Linked DNA regions of Homo sapiens: all the other regions are linked to region 2. The links are contacts of gene promoters, found by promoter capture Hi-C in blood cells and fetal thymus (Javierre and others, 2016). All regions are on one chromosome and are shown on one strand. The core of a region is centred on a gene start or on the middle of the fragment in contact, and the rest is flanking DNA. Distances in the headings are between cores, read along the strand shown.

What was found. The method cuts DNA at HindIII sites, captures the fragments that hold promoters and counts their contacts. A CHiCAGO score of 5 or more calls a contact.
Region 1: the fragment with the promoter of PUS3 here is called in contact with the fragment with the promoter of RPS13 in region 2 in 2 of 17 cell types (total CD4 T cells and total B cells); the score reaches 9.7 in total CD4 T cells.
Region 3: a fragment that was not itself captured here is called in contact with the fragment with the promoter of RPS13 in region 2 in 8 of 17 cell types (non-activated CD4 T cells, naive B cells, fetal thymus and 5 more); the score reaches 21.3 in non-activated CD4 T cells.

Annotation. Positions count from the first base shown.
Region 1 is chr11:125,901,466-125,905,056 of GRCh38, forward strand. PUS3 (pseudouridine synthase 3) reads right to left here and starts at 1,741. Exons shown (of 4, transcript NM_031307.4): 1 at 1,705-1,741. DDX25 (DEAD-box helicase 25) reads left to right here and starts at 3,043. Exons shown (of 12, transcript NM_013264.5): 1 at 3,043-3,115. The coding sequence starts at 3,053. The HindIII fragment of the contact is 3,679 bases long and covers 1-2,453 here.
Region 2 is chr11:17,076,208-17,080,336 of GRCh38, forward strand. RPS13 (ribosomal protein S13) reads right to left here and starts at 1,460. Exons shown (of 6, transcript NM_001017.3): 1 at 1,412-1,460; 2 at 1,222-1,270; 3 at 961-1,039. The coding sequence starts at 1,434. RefSeq lists an enhancer at 1,494-1,693. The HindIII fragment of the contact is 8,959 bases long and covers 1-2,261 here.
Region 3 is chr11:43,637,283-43,641,284 of GRCh38, forward strand. It overlaps a transcript of HSD17B12 not described here. Among named protein-coding and RNA genes, the nearest start is that of HSD17B12, 41 kb to the right of the region's middle. The HindIII fragment of the contact is 877 bases long and covers 1,870-2,746 here.

The sequences.
Region 1 (3,591 bases), core at 491-2,990, about 110 Mb after region 2:
GGACCATCTAAAATCTGAAAGTTGTCAGTTTTAACACCAGAGGCCAGAAGAATGATAGTACAGTTTGCTTGTTCACAGAGAAAAAGTTCTAACATAAAGGTGAATGACCTTGACCGTTACTATCTGCGAAAATCATTTTCCCTGTAACATTTAAAGCCACATAATTCACACATTCACCCAGTTCTATTTGTTAGGCATTTGTCTGGAAAAGAAGTAATCAATGACTCAGGTACATGTAGGATATACTCACCGCAAAAAAGTAGAAACTGCAAACTGTCCACCAACAGTGGAATAGTAAATGTCTTTAAAGACATTAGAATATTAAATAGTCATTGGGAATCTTGGGAAAGTAATATGGGAAGGTGAAATTAAGTGACATGAATGTATCATAAACTATACAGGATGATCTCAGTACACACAGGGAAAGATCAAAACCTAACGAGTAGTGGGATTAAAGGTAATTTGTATTTATACCTCGACTTTTTATGAGGTCAAAAATTACATGGTGATTTTAACATGCAAAACACTCCAGTGATTATTTGGATCTCAAAGTCCAACATTACCAAAGTCTCCAAAGTTCAACTCCCGTGCTAACTAAAGAACTAGGCCAGGGAGTGAGTCTAGTTGGTCATAAGGCAGATTTGTGGCAAAAACAGGACTTGGTACACTACAGTGCTTTTTCCAGCACACCTTACCCTAATTCAGGGTGAAGTGCAGGAGTTCCCAAGCAGACGTTTAAAGTAACACCCTGGCCAGGGCTGCGAAGTAACCACAGAGAGGGAATTCGTGTGTCCCCTAAGCACCAATTACAAACTAAAACGGCCATCACCAGATGTTCCATACATTGGGCCAGGCGCCGTGGCTCACGCCTGTCATCCCAACATTTTGAGAGGCCAAGACGGGGTGGTGGCGGGGGGGAGGGGGGGTCGCTCGAAGTCAGGAGTTCGAGACCAACCTGGGCAACACAGCGAGACCGTGTGTTAATTAAAAAATTAAAAACTAGGCTGCCAAGATGGCGCACGCCTGCAGTCCCAGCTAGTTGGAGGCTGAGGTGGAAGGATCGCTTGAGCCCAGGAGGTAGAGGCTGCAGTGAGCAGTGATCACGCCACTTCACTCAGCCTGGGCGACAGTCTTAAAAAAAAAAAAAAAAAAGTCCTAATCTCAGGAACCAGTGGGTTAACACATAAATAGCATTCCTCTTGATAAACTTTATATTAATCCAAAGGGAAGAAGAGGGAGTACTGTCCAAAGGATTAGCAGACACGCACTATGATCACTAGAAAGCAATCGTGGTCTGTATGTAAGGCAATCCCCAAAATAATTTGAAAATTGCTGCCACAGCCTCCCACATACTCCTGGGTTCTCAACTTCTACTGTTTTATGAGCACCCAATTCTAAGTGGGGCAGCAGAGCACTTTTGTACTCCACAGTACAAGTACCACTGAAGCTCCCGTCACAACGGAATTAAAGACGACCCTACTGCGGCGAGTTTCCACCGAGAGCTCCAGAAAGTACCAGGCACAAAAGAAAAATACATGGTCTTAAGCGAGGTCTCATTTCCATACGGCAATGCTTTCCTGAAAAGACCAAAGTATGTGAAAGAGGGCAAAAAGAAGACAACAGACAACCGTTCAGCAGTGTGTCCATTTGTCCCTTCCCCTGTGGAACCCAGAAAGTAACCCACTCCAAAAATCCCACACTTACTTTCCGGCAGCCGGCCGCGCCGCGTTTCCGAGAAAGGAAGCTGTCACTGTGCGTCTTCTGCGCAGGCGCCCGAGCCCTCATGGGAGGTGTAGTCCAAGTTTGTGGGAAATGTAGTTCTGAGAACCGAGCTTGGTGCTAGAATCTACCTGAGGTTTTCTAGTCCAGCTACCGTTTCTCCGCCCACAGGGCAGAATCTGGGCCTGTGGCGGGACAGCAATAAAAGGAGGAATTGTAGTGCTACGCTAAAATAATAGAAAAAAGGTAATTTTTCAAATTCTGCTATCCTTATACGAAAACTAAAAGATTGAAGATCTTGGCTCGATTTTATACCTAGTTAAATGAGAAGAAAGTTACCATTGAGAGACAAAAACATTTACTATTAGAATTCAAATTAAAAGCTGAAATGAATATGATAATCTCAAAACAAACGACTAGGTGCCCTGAGAGTGACCGAACAGAGCGGGGAGCGTTGCTTCAGCACCACGGAGAGATCATGACTGCAGTTTCGTGTGGGTTTTTGTATTTTTGCCCCCAATTCCAGAAATGCTGATCAAAATCTCAAAATTACAATTAGAAAACTGGGGGGCGGGGGGGAGGTGGAATTTGGTTCTTTCGTCCAAATTGAGCGGTCATTAAATCATTAGTACCAGGGATCCAGGGATCTATACCGGATTATGCAAACGCATGTAGGACGTAGAGGTTATACCGAAAGGTAATGTTTTTAACAAGAGACCACATTTCAGAATAAAAGCTTTAAAAAGCCTATGTGGAACATCACAGGTATCTAGGGCAGGAACAGCAGTTAGAGCTTGAACAGTTCTGCTTCCTTTCCGCAACTGTGGCATTCGAGGTCATTCGTCATATCAAATTCATCAGATTTTGTCTCCACTTTGCTAACCAATTCGCTAACCTTTCTGACATCTTGTGATGTGGAGGCGGAAATTTCCAGGGAAACCGACACGGGGCGTAAAGCGCGGCGGGGAGTCCGGGGGGCTCCCGCCTGGAGGGCTGTGTGAGCGGCGGGCCGCGGGGCGGCGCGGGGGGCGCTCTCCACTCTGCGGAAGCTGCCCCCTCTGCCCTCCGGTCCGCGCCCTTTCGCCCCGCTCTCTGCCCTCCGCCCCGCTCTCTGCCCTCCGCCCCGCTCTCTGCCCCCCGCCCCGCTCTCTGCCCTCCGCCCCTTCCGCGCGCCACCCAGCCTTCCAGCGCCTGCGCGCCGCACCGCGGTGGTCGCGGGCGCGGACGCGGACGCCTGCCCCCTAAGGAAGCCCATTGGCCAGCGGATGGGGCCAGCACCGCCTCGCGCCGGTGGTGGAAGCACGTGCTGGGGGCGGGAGCAGCAATCGCAGCCATGGCGTCGTTACTGTGGGGAGGCGACGCAGGGGCGGCGGAGAGCGAGCGGCTGAACAGCCACGTAACCGCCACCGAGCCGGGGGGCCACAGCCGCGGGGGTGGAGCTCCCACTCGCAGAGGGAGATCGGCTGGGAGGGGAGGGAGAGCCCGCGAGCGTTCGAAGTGGGGCGTCAGATGCTGGAGGGGAGATGCGGGAAGGGTTTGGAAGAGGGCCACAGAGGGAGACCCCGTCCCCACCCCCACGAGAGGCAAGACCTTTGGTTAGAAAGGGCAAAAATGACGACCCCTGGAAATCCAGGGTGGGAACGCAGCTGGTAGTCCCAGCTAGACCCCGAGTTTTCTACTCTGCCCATTTGCCCATTAAGCCTCACCTCGCTTCCATCCATTTGCCAGCGCACTTTCCTAGCCACCCTCCCCTTGTTGGTGCCGTGAGCCCCAAGTACTGCCCAACTCTAAACTAGAGGCCTAGGAAAGAGAAACTGCATGTACAGGGAATACAGAAAATCTCCAATTTTAGGGTAACTCATACAGGAAACC
Region 2 (4,129 bases), core at 210-2,709:
GAAACCTCGTCTCTACTAAAAATACAAAAATTAGCCGGGCGTGGTGGTGCGGCCTGTAGTCTCAGCTACTCCAGAGGCAGAGGCAGGAGAATTGCTTGCTTGAACCCAGGAGGCGGAGGTTGCAGTGAGCCGAGATCATACCACTGCACTCCAGCCTGGGTGACAAAGTGAGAATCGGTCTCAAACAAAAACACACAAATTAGCTGGGCCTGCTGGCGGGCGCCTGTAATCCCACCTATTCGGGAGGCTGAGGCAGGAGAATCGCTTGAATCCAGGAGGTGGAGGTTGCAGTGAGCTGAGATCGCGCCACTGCACTCCAGACTGGGCGACAAGAGCAAGACTGTCTCAAAAAAAAAAAAAAAAAGAGGTGGGGTCTCTCTGTCACCCAGGAGTGCAGTGGCTTCATCATAGCTCACTGCAGCCTGGGACTTCTAGGCTCTGGTGATCCTCTCACCTCTGCATCCCAAGTATCTGGGACTACAGGCACATTGCGGCTGGCTTTTTTGGGCGGGGGAGTCGGAGAGTAGTATGTTCTCAGGCCCCAGAACCATGTTCAGCACATAGAAGGTAAACATTTGCTGAATGAAGCCACTTGCACGAAGTCACACGCAGCTGAGATTCAAACCACACCTAACTGTGAGGAACTGTGTCAGGCACTCTGCTTAGCCAATTCCAACTCCTCCACTTGACAGCTGTGTGATTTGGGGCTGGTTAGTATCCAGCGGCAGTGTGCCTCTGCTTCCTCAACTGTAAACTGGGGTGAAAGCCATGAAGATTTATTTCAAAGTATTGTGGTCAGAATTAAACGAAATCAGTACATGTGAAGTGCTTACAATGATGCCTCTAGCACGGTGGCGAGACCAGAGTTTTGGCTATTTTTAAAATAACTTTACCACCTACTAGATCCTACAAGTCACACGAGGACAGGCGAAATAGGCTATGTTAGACACAAACACTCACCGATCTGTGAAGGAGTAAGGCCCTTCTTGGCCAGTTTGTAAATCTGCTCCTTCACGTCGTCAGATGTCAACTTCAACCACTGTTATGGAATAGAAAGCAGCCTTAGGATGAGAACCCAGGAATGGCGCCGCAGAACAGCGGTCTCTCCTTCCGCAAAACCGCGCTCCTCATACACGCAAGTTCCTCACCCTGGCGTCGCTTCACCCGAGACAAATGCCAACCCCCTCCCCGGATTCTCCCCGGTCCCAGCGCGCTACTTACAGTGGGGACGCTGCGTCGATAGGGTAAAGCCGACTGGGACAGGCCCTTCCTGGGGAGAGAAGCAGTCTCGAGGTGAGGTGGCGGCTAGTGCCAGAGCAGCCCAGAACATCATCCCCTCGGCCCGCTGCCCACACTCCCTGTCTTCCTCCCACCCCCCGCCCAGCAATCCGGCTTGATGCCCCGAGCTCACCCGGGAGCATGCATGCGACCCATGATGGCGGCGATCAGGCAACGAAAGGAGAGCGAGAGTGGAAACGCCGCAGGAAGCCACCCAACACGCAGGAAGTGACCTCACACGTCCCCGCTTCCTCTCACGCAGGAGGCGGAGCTACGCTGCGCAGCCACCGCCCGTCTGTGTGACTACATCTCCCGAAATGCATTTCAGCGTCGCAAGAGATCGTCAATCCAGCCTCATCCCGGCATGCATCGGTCTTTGGTCAGCCTTGTTGCCAGAGCGGGAATTTGAGGCTGACGCCAGCTTGCGTCGAAATTCCCTGTGGACGCCGAGATCACAAAGATTCGAATGCTGCGCTGGGGGTGGGTATGGAGCAGGTAGGGCTGGAAGAAGCAGCCATACACAGGTGTTTGCTCATTCACCAGTGCCTGGCTTTGTCCTGGCACTAGATCCCTCAGAGTCGGCCCTGCGCCTAATAAATTAACAGATACAATAGCATGTGATGAGGACCACACGGGAAGCCATGGCAGCGGCTACCGCCCAGCCAGCGCTTCCATTTCTCATTTCTAAATCCTACCCTAATCTGTCAGGGGAGAGTCGCTGACGGTGAAGAACCGGTCTAAGGAGTTGAACCAGGTCCCCACGGATGCCTGCCGCCCTCCGCACTCGAATTCCCCTGCGCAGGGCTCTGGGGCGCTGGGCTCGCCGGGGAGAAGGGTTGGGCAGAGGCTTACGGAGCTATGTTCCCAAGTGAGAGAGTTGGCGGGCAGGGAAGAGCCTTGGGAGCAAGACTGCAAAGGCCAAGAGGATGAGGGATAAAATGAAGCATTTGAATTTCATGGGAAAAGGGAACCGTCAAGGAAGAAGCTTTTTTTTTTTTTTGAGACGGAGTTTCGCTCTTGATTCGCAGGCTGGAGTGCAATGGCGCGATCTCGGCTTGCCGCACCCTCCGCCTCCCGGCTTCAAGCGATTCTCCTGCCTCAGCCTCCTGAATAGCTGGGATCACAGGCATGCGCCACCACTTCCAGCTAATTTTGTATTTTTAGTAGAGACGGGTTTTTCCATGTTGGTCAGGCTGGTCTTAAATTCCCGACCTCAGGTGATCCGCCCGCCTCGGCCTCCCAAAGTGCTGGGATTACAGGCGTGAGCCACCGCGCCTGGCCGGAAGAAGCTCTTTTAAGACAGACCTAGCCTGGGCAACATGGCGAAACCCCCTCTCTATAAATACAAAGAATTAGCCGGGCGTGCTCGCTCGTGCCTTTGGTTCCAGCTACGAAGGAGGCTGAGGTGGAGAATCTCTGGAGCCGGGAAGGACATTGCGGTGAGCCGAGATAGCACCACTGCGCGCCAGCCTGGGCAACAGAGCAAGACTCTGTCTTAAAAAAAAAAAAAAAAAAGGAAAGAAAGAAAAAGACTGACTCAGTGCCGGTACACAACAATGCGTTGAAAGAATGGGCAAATGAAGCAGCTTCTTAAAATTTTAAAAAGTAAGCATAGCTCTAGGAAGGAGGGAGGTCAGTGAAATCAAACTCCTGTCGACAAGCTTAAAGTAACTGGCAAGACGCTGGGAAACTAGATACTGAAACATCCGCTCTTAACTTTTAACCTGTCACTATTTGAAATAAAGTTATCAGGGATAGCCGGGCGCGGTGGCTCACGCCTGTAATCCCAGCACTTTGGGAGGCTGAGGCGGGCGGATCACGAGATCAAGAGATCGAGACCATCCTGGCTAACACGGTGAAACCCCGTCTCTACTAAAAATACAAAAAAATTAGACGGGCGTGGTGGCGGGCGCCTGTAGTCCCAGCTACTCAGGAGGCTGAGGCAGGAGAATGGCGTGAACCCGGGAGGCGGAGCTTGCAGTAAGCCACGATCGCACCACTGCACTCCAGCCTAGGTGGCAGAGCGAGACTCCGTCTCAAAAAAAAAGTATCAGGGATAAAGAGAGAACCCTTTATAACAACAAACGGGTCAGTTCTCCAAGAAAACAACACCCCTCCCCCCCAAAAAAGCCATAATCTGTCACTATTTGATTAATAACTTTTCCCAAAGCATTAGGAATTTTAGTCAAATCGGGTACCCTATTTGGGTAATGTTTTTTTCTAGCAAAGTTTATCATTAGCCAATTTTACATTTTTAGTTCAGATATGGAATAGGTATCTCAAATTTAATATGACTCCAATTCCCAAACCATGCCCCTTTGTTTCAGTTAAACACGATCCTGTTTGCTCAAACTTAATACAAACCTAGGCATCTCCGTTTTTCTCTGATTTCCCTCTGTCATCCCAGCTCTACCACAAGAATGTATCATGAATATGTTCCCTTTGCCCCATTTCCACCTTCAGTCCCAGCCACCATCACCTCCTATCTGGGCAACTCTGTAGTATCCACACCGTCTGGTCACGTCCCCACTCTAAACACAACCCACTCTCCACCTAGCAGTCAGAGTGATCCATTAAATACATAAAGCAGATTAATTCATTGCTCCCCTGTGTAAATCCCTCCCATACTTTCTCAATGCACCTAAGATCCAATCCCTGGACCCACGTCTTGCCACTATCCCCCGATTCTAAACGCTCTAACCGCACTTACTCCTTTCTGACTCTACAAGGTAGCAATGTGTTCCTTTCCTGCTTAGAGCCCTTCCTCTTGCTGTTGGCACTGCCTGAAGTGCTTGCTCTTCCTCAAGACCTTTTCAGGTCTCACTTTCACATCCTGGCCTCCATGTCATCT
Region 3 (4,002 bases), core at 1,058-3,557, about 27 Mb after region 2:
CAATCTTGGCTCACTGCAACCTCTGTCTCCCAGGTTCCAGCGATTCTCCTGCCTCAGCCTCCCAAGTAGCTGGGATTATAAGCATGCACCACCATGCCCAGCTAATTTTTGTATTTTTAGTAGAGCTGGTATTTCACCATGTTGGTCAGGCTGGTCTCGAACTCCTGACCTCAGGTGATCCGCAGGCCTTGGCCTCCCAAAGTGCTGGGATTACAGGTGTGAGCCACCGTGCCTGGCTGACACTATTGTTTTTCTTAGAAGAATGTGCTACAGTAGTATTAACAGATCCTCTATTGGGTCAGAAACAGGTGCTAGTGATTGTCATGGTCTTAATGGAAAGGATGGGGTTATCATCAGTGATACAGAATGGTTTTTTAGAGAAAGAAATAATTATGTTGAAGACGCAAAGTTAATAGGAGACTGTTCGTTCAGAAAAATGTGTGTTAATTTGTAATTCAGCAACAAGTTCATAGAAACACAGTGTCCATGAGCTAGGAAGGTGCATGTATTTTTCAGGCTGTTTTTAAAGCTATGAAATTTCAATAATGTGTAAGAGAAAAAGTGATATGTAAATACCATTGTGGATGGGGAGGGGTTATATTTAGGTGGTTAACATTAGGCAAGCCAGTGAGTAATAATTAGCAAATTATTACCATGGCCCTCTGTGCACTTGAAGGCTCTCTGGTGGAGTCAAGGGTAGATCTGCCTCTGTGGCATTTGTCAGAATGCAGATTTTCAGTGAGGGCTTTGTTAAATAAACCATCAGTGTCTGGGAGGGGGAGGGAAAGCAGACTGAGAGAGGCAGCAGTAACACATATAGAAATGAAGTCCAAATTCGGGTGCTTATATGGCGATATTCCAGTTTCTCTGGATCATCATAGACACATATAGAATGTTCGTGCTAAATGGGACCTTGGAGATTGTCTGGTACAACCCCCTCATTTTACATTTTACTTTTCTATGAGAATAGAGTTTGGTGAAATCTGGCCAGGATTTCAGTACAGTGAAATCAGGGAAGTTTGTGGTGTGTTTAAAGAGAGATTTCATGTTAGGATGAAGGGAAAGCGGACATTCCTTCAGTTTTAGAGTGATGTCCAGGTAGGAAAGTAGAGTGGGTAAGGCAGTGAATTTTCCCAAATTAATTAAAAGAGGAAGGGAAAGAGGCAGAAAGGGCAAAGAGATAATCTAATTTTATGCTAAACAGTTTTTGAATGGATTTGTAGCTAATGTTTAAAAGTTGATGAAAAAGAAAACTCTTATTTTATTATTTCTAGGAACTTGGTTTTCTTAAACGGAAAGGGAAGTTTGGGGGAGAGCTTGGCAGCATTGATGGTTCCAGCAAAGGAAGGATCTATTTGCATCTAGTGTTGAACCTAGTAAGCAGTTTATGTTAATCCCTTACTCTTTTAAGATTAATATATCGTGGTGTTTTAAATAATTACTTATAAATAAGTTTATGCCTAATGCTTTCTTTTAAATAACAGTGTGTCTCAATAGGACTAATGAGTCAGATTAATTTGGCATGGAGTTCTGAGCAGGGAAGGGGACTGAAGTCCTCTTTCAGAACACTAAAAATGCTTTGCTACATTCCTTGACAGTTTCCCGAGACAGGGTTGGGTTGGAGGGAGTCTTCCCGAAGATTTAAGGGCTCCCCACTGTGCTAGCTCCCCAGTTCCAATAGTGTCGGGTCTGAATAAGGACACTTGTGAAAGTCCACATCTCTAGTGTGTCTGTTTACCTGGAGAAAAATAAGCCAACAGCCCTGAGGGTGAATCAAAGATAAGATTTTTATGGCTCTGTACCCACTTGTGTTTTATTTTTTATAAAAAGCATTATTTACCTACCACATCTTTAAGTACTTCAGAAAGAAGCTTTGAGTTTGTCATTGTTTTTAATTTAAAAAGGAAAACATTGCACTTTTTTCTCATCTGCACTTTTGTAAGGTGTGGAGATATTAGAGGCTCTCCATATTGGACGCTTCAACCTTGCCTAACAGCACAGCCCGCCCACCTTGCTGGGAGAAAGGCTTCAGGAAAACGAGTAGAGCTGAGGGCTGAATACTATCTTAGTTTAGGTCTTTCTTCTTTTTGCCTTTTGGTTCTGCTTCCCTTGGCTGCTCCCACTTCAGTATCTGCTTGTTGTGCTGGGTAATGGAATCAAGTTAGAGATGAAGAAACTGAGGCACAGCCTAGTTACAATCCCTCATTTTGACAAGGCAAAATGAGAGGGAGCACTCAAGCCTTTAGTCTGGGTGGAGACAGTAGGTCCTGTTGCTTCTGCCCTAGAAATTGCTTGGGCTTGTGAGTTGACATCTCTTCTATCCATAGAAGGAACCTCTGCTTAGTACTTGCAAACTTGTACCACAAAAGTCACATCCTTCAGGGGAAAAAAAAGAGAAAAAGAAAAAAAAACTAGCTTAGGAAACCAAAGGTTGCCAAGAATGGCATAAGGGAAAGCAATTTTTTAGTGTCTGTGCGTAGGAATTTTATACGTTCTATGTTGCTGTGAAGCACCAGGGTCAGTTCTGAGCAAGATACTTTTCGTGAAATGAGGGGTGGTGTCTGCGGTTGGCATTCTTTCTTGTGGTTCTCACTCAGCTGTGCTCTCCAACTTTATTCACCTGTATGAGAACCCTAAGCGGGATGCCCTGGTGAAGAACAAGAAATTGCCAGGGTCTGGCAAATTGCAAGTCCACAAGTACCTAGTAGGGAGTGAAAATTGGTTATGTTTGGAGTATGGAGAGATAAGCTTAACTAAACTGTGAGTAAACATGAAAACAAAAATAAAATCAGAATATGCCCGCAAATGCTGGGGAGAAGAATGTTAGGCATTTTATTGGTCTGTTAAAAAAAAAAGTGGGGAATGGTGGATTCATAGAAGAAATAATTAGAAAACTGGTGTAGGAAAAACACTGTGGGGAGGGGGGAAAGCAGCACAATTAATTCTCATTCCCCCCCTCTAAAGTTTGAAGTAGTAGATCCTTATGGGGAATGAAGGGAATATGTAAGAAATCGTAAAATTTTCTAAGCAGAAAATAATTTTTCTTTGGAGAGGAGGCATGTGAGTTCATGAATGTAAACCTGCATTAAAAAGGAGAGACAATTGTGGGCAGAAAGAGGGAGAAGGAGAAGCAGTATAATCGTTTTTAAAAATTCAGCCTAAATTGAGTATTCAGCATTTCCATCTTAGAGTATGTAGGGTTTTAAATATCTCTGTTCGAGAAAATTGATTTGAAGATAGAAAGGCCTTTCGAAACTTAGAAATTCTAGGGTTTAGGTTTTTTTCTTTCATATGTTTATTTGAAGCTTAGACTATAGAAACTATATATAAAATAAGAATTGTTACGTATTAGGAAATTTTTAAAATAGATAAGGCTAGTTAATTATTTAAATATATTGAAAGTATTAAAACTATTGAGTCATAAATAAGACCCCCAAAATATGTCAGTGGCAGGGTAAAATGCAGAAAAACTAAGTATATCAGAAACTACTATCTGTGATAAAATTCAAAATGGGGTTTTTAATTGCAGCATTAATTTAATTTAATTATATTTCAGACTTGCTACATAAAATTAGGACTCAAAAATACAAATATCTATATGTCCATCATGATTTTTTACAGAACAGAAGTAATCATAATCATTTACTTGTTTTTTTTTTATTTCTATAGGAAAATAGCAAAAATTTCATCTCCTGAAGAAATTTGAAGATTTTTTTGGATATTCTTTTAAAGGTGAAACTTTTCTTCTTTAGGTAAGGAAACGTTTTCTATTGTTTATCCATGGGTTGAAAAGAGCATTTCAATTAGACGAAAGAAGTATCATGTACTAAAACTTTGCTTATCTTAACTGATGTAAAACATCATGAAGATGATAGAAAGCAGGATTTTTAATTTAAATAAAGCAAAAGTAGTTAGAAATTTTTCATTTAAAAAAGATTAATTTGTTGGGGAAAAAATGAGATAGACCCCTTTTTTTTTGCACTTTCTCATAGCCTGAATAAG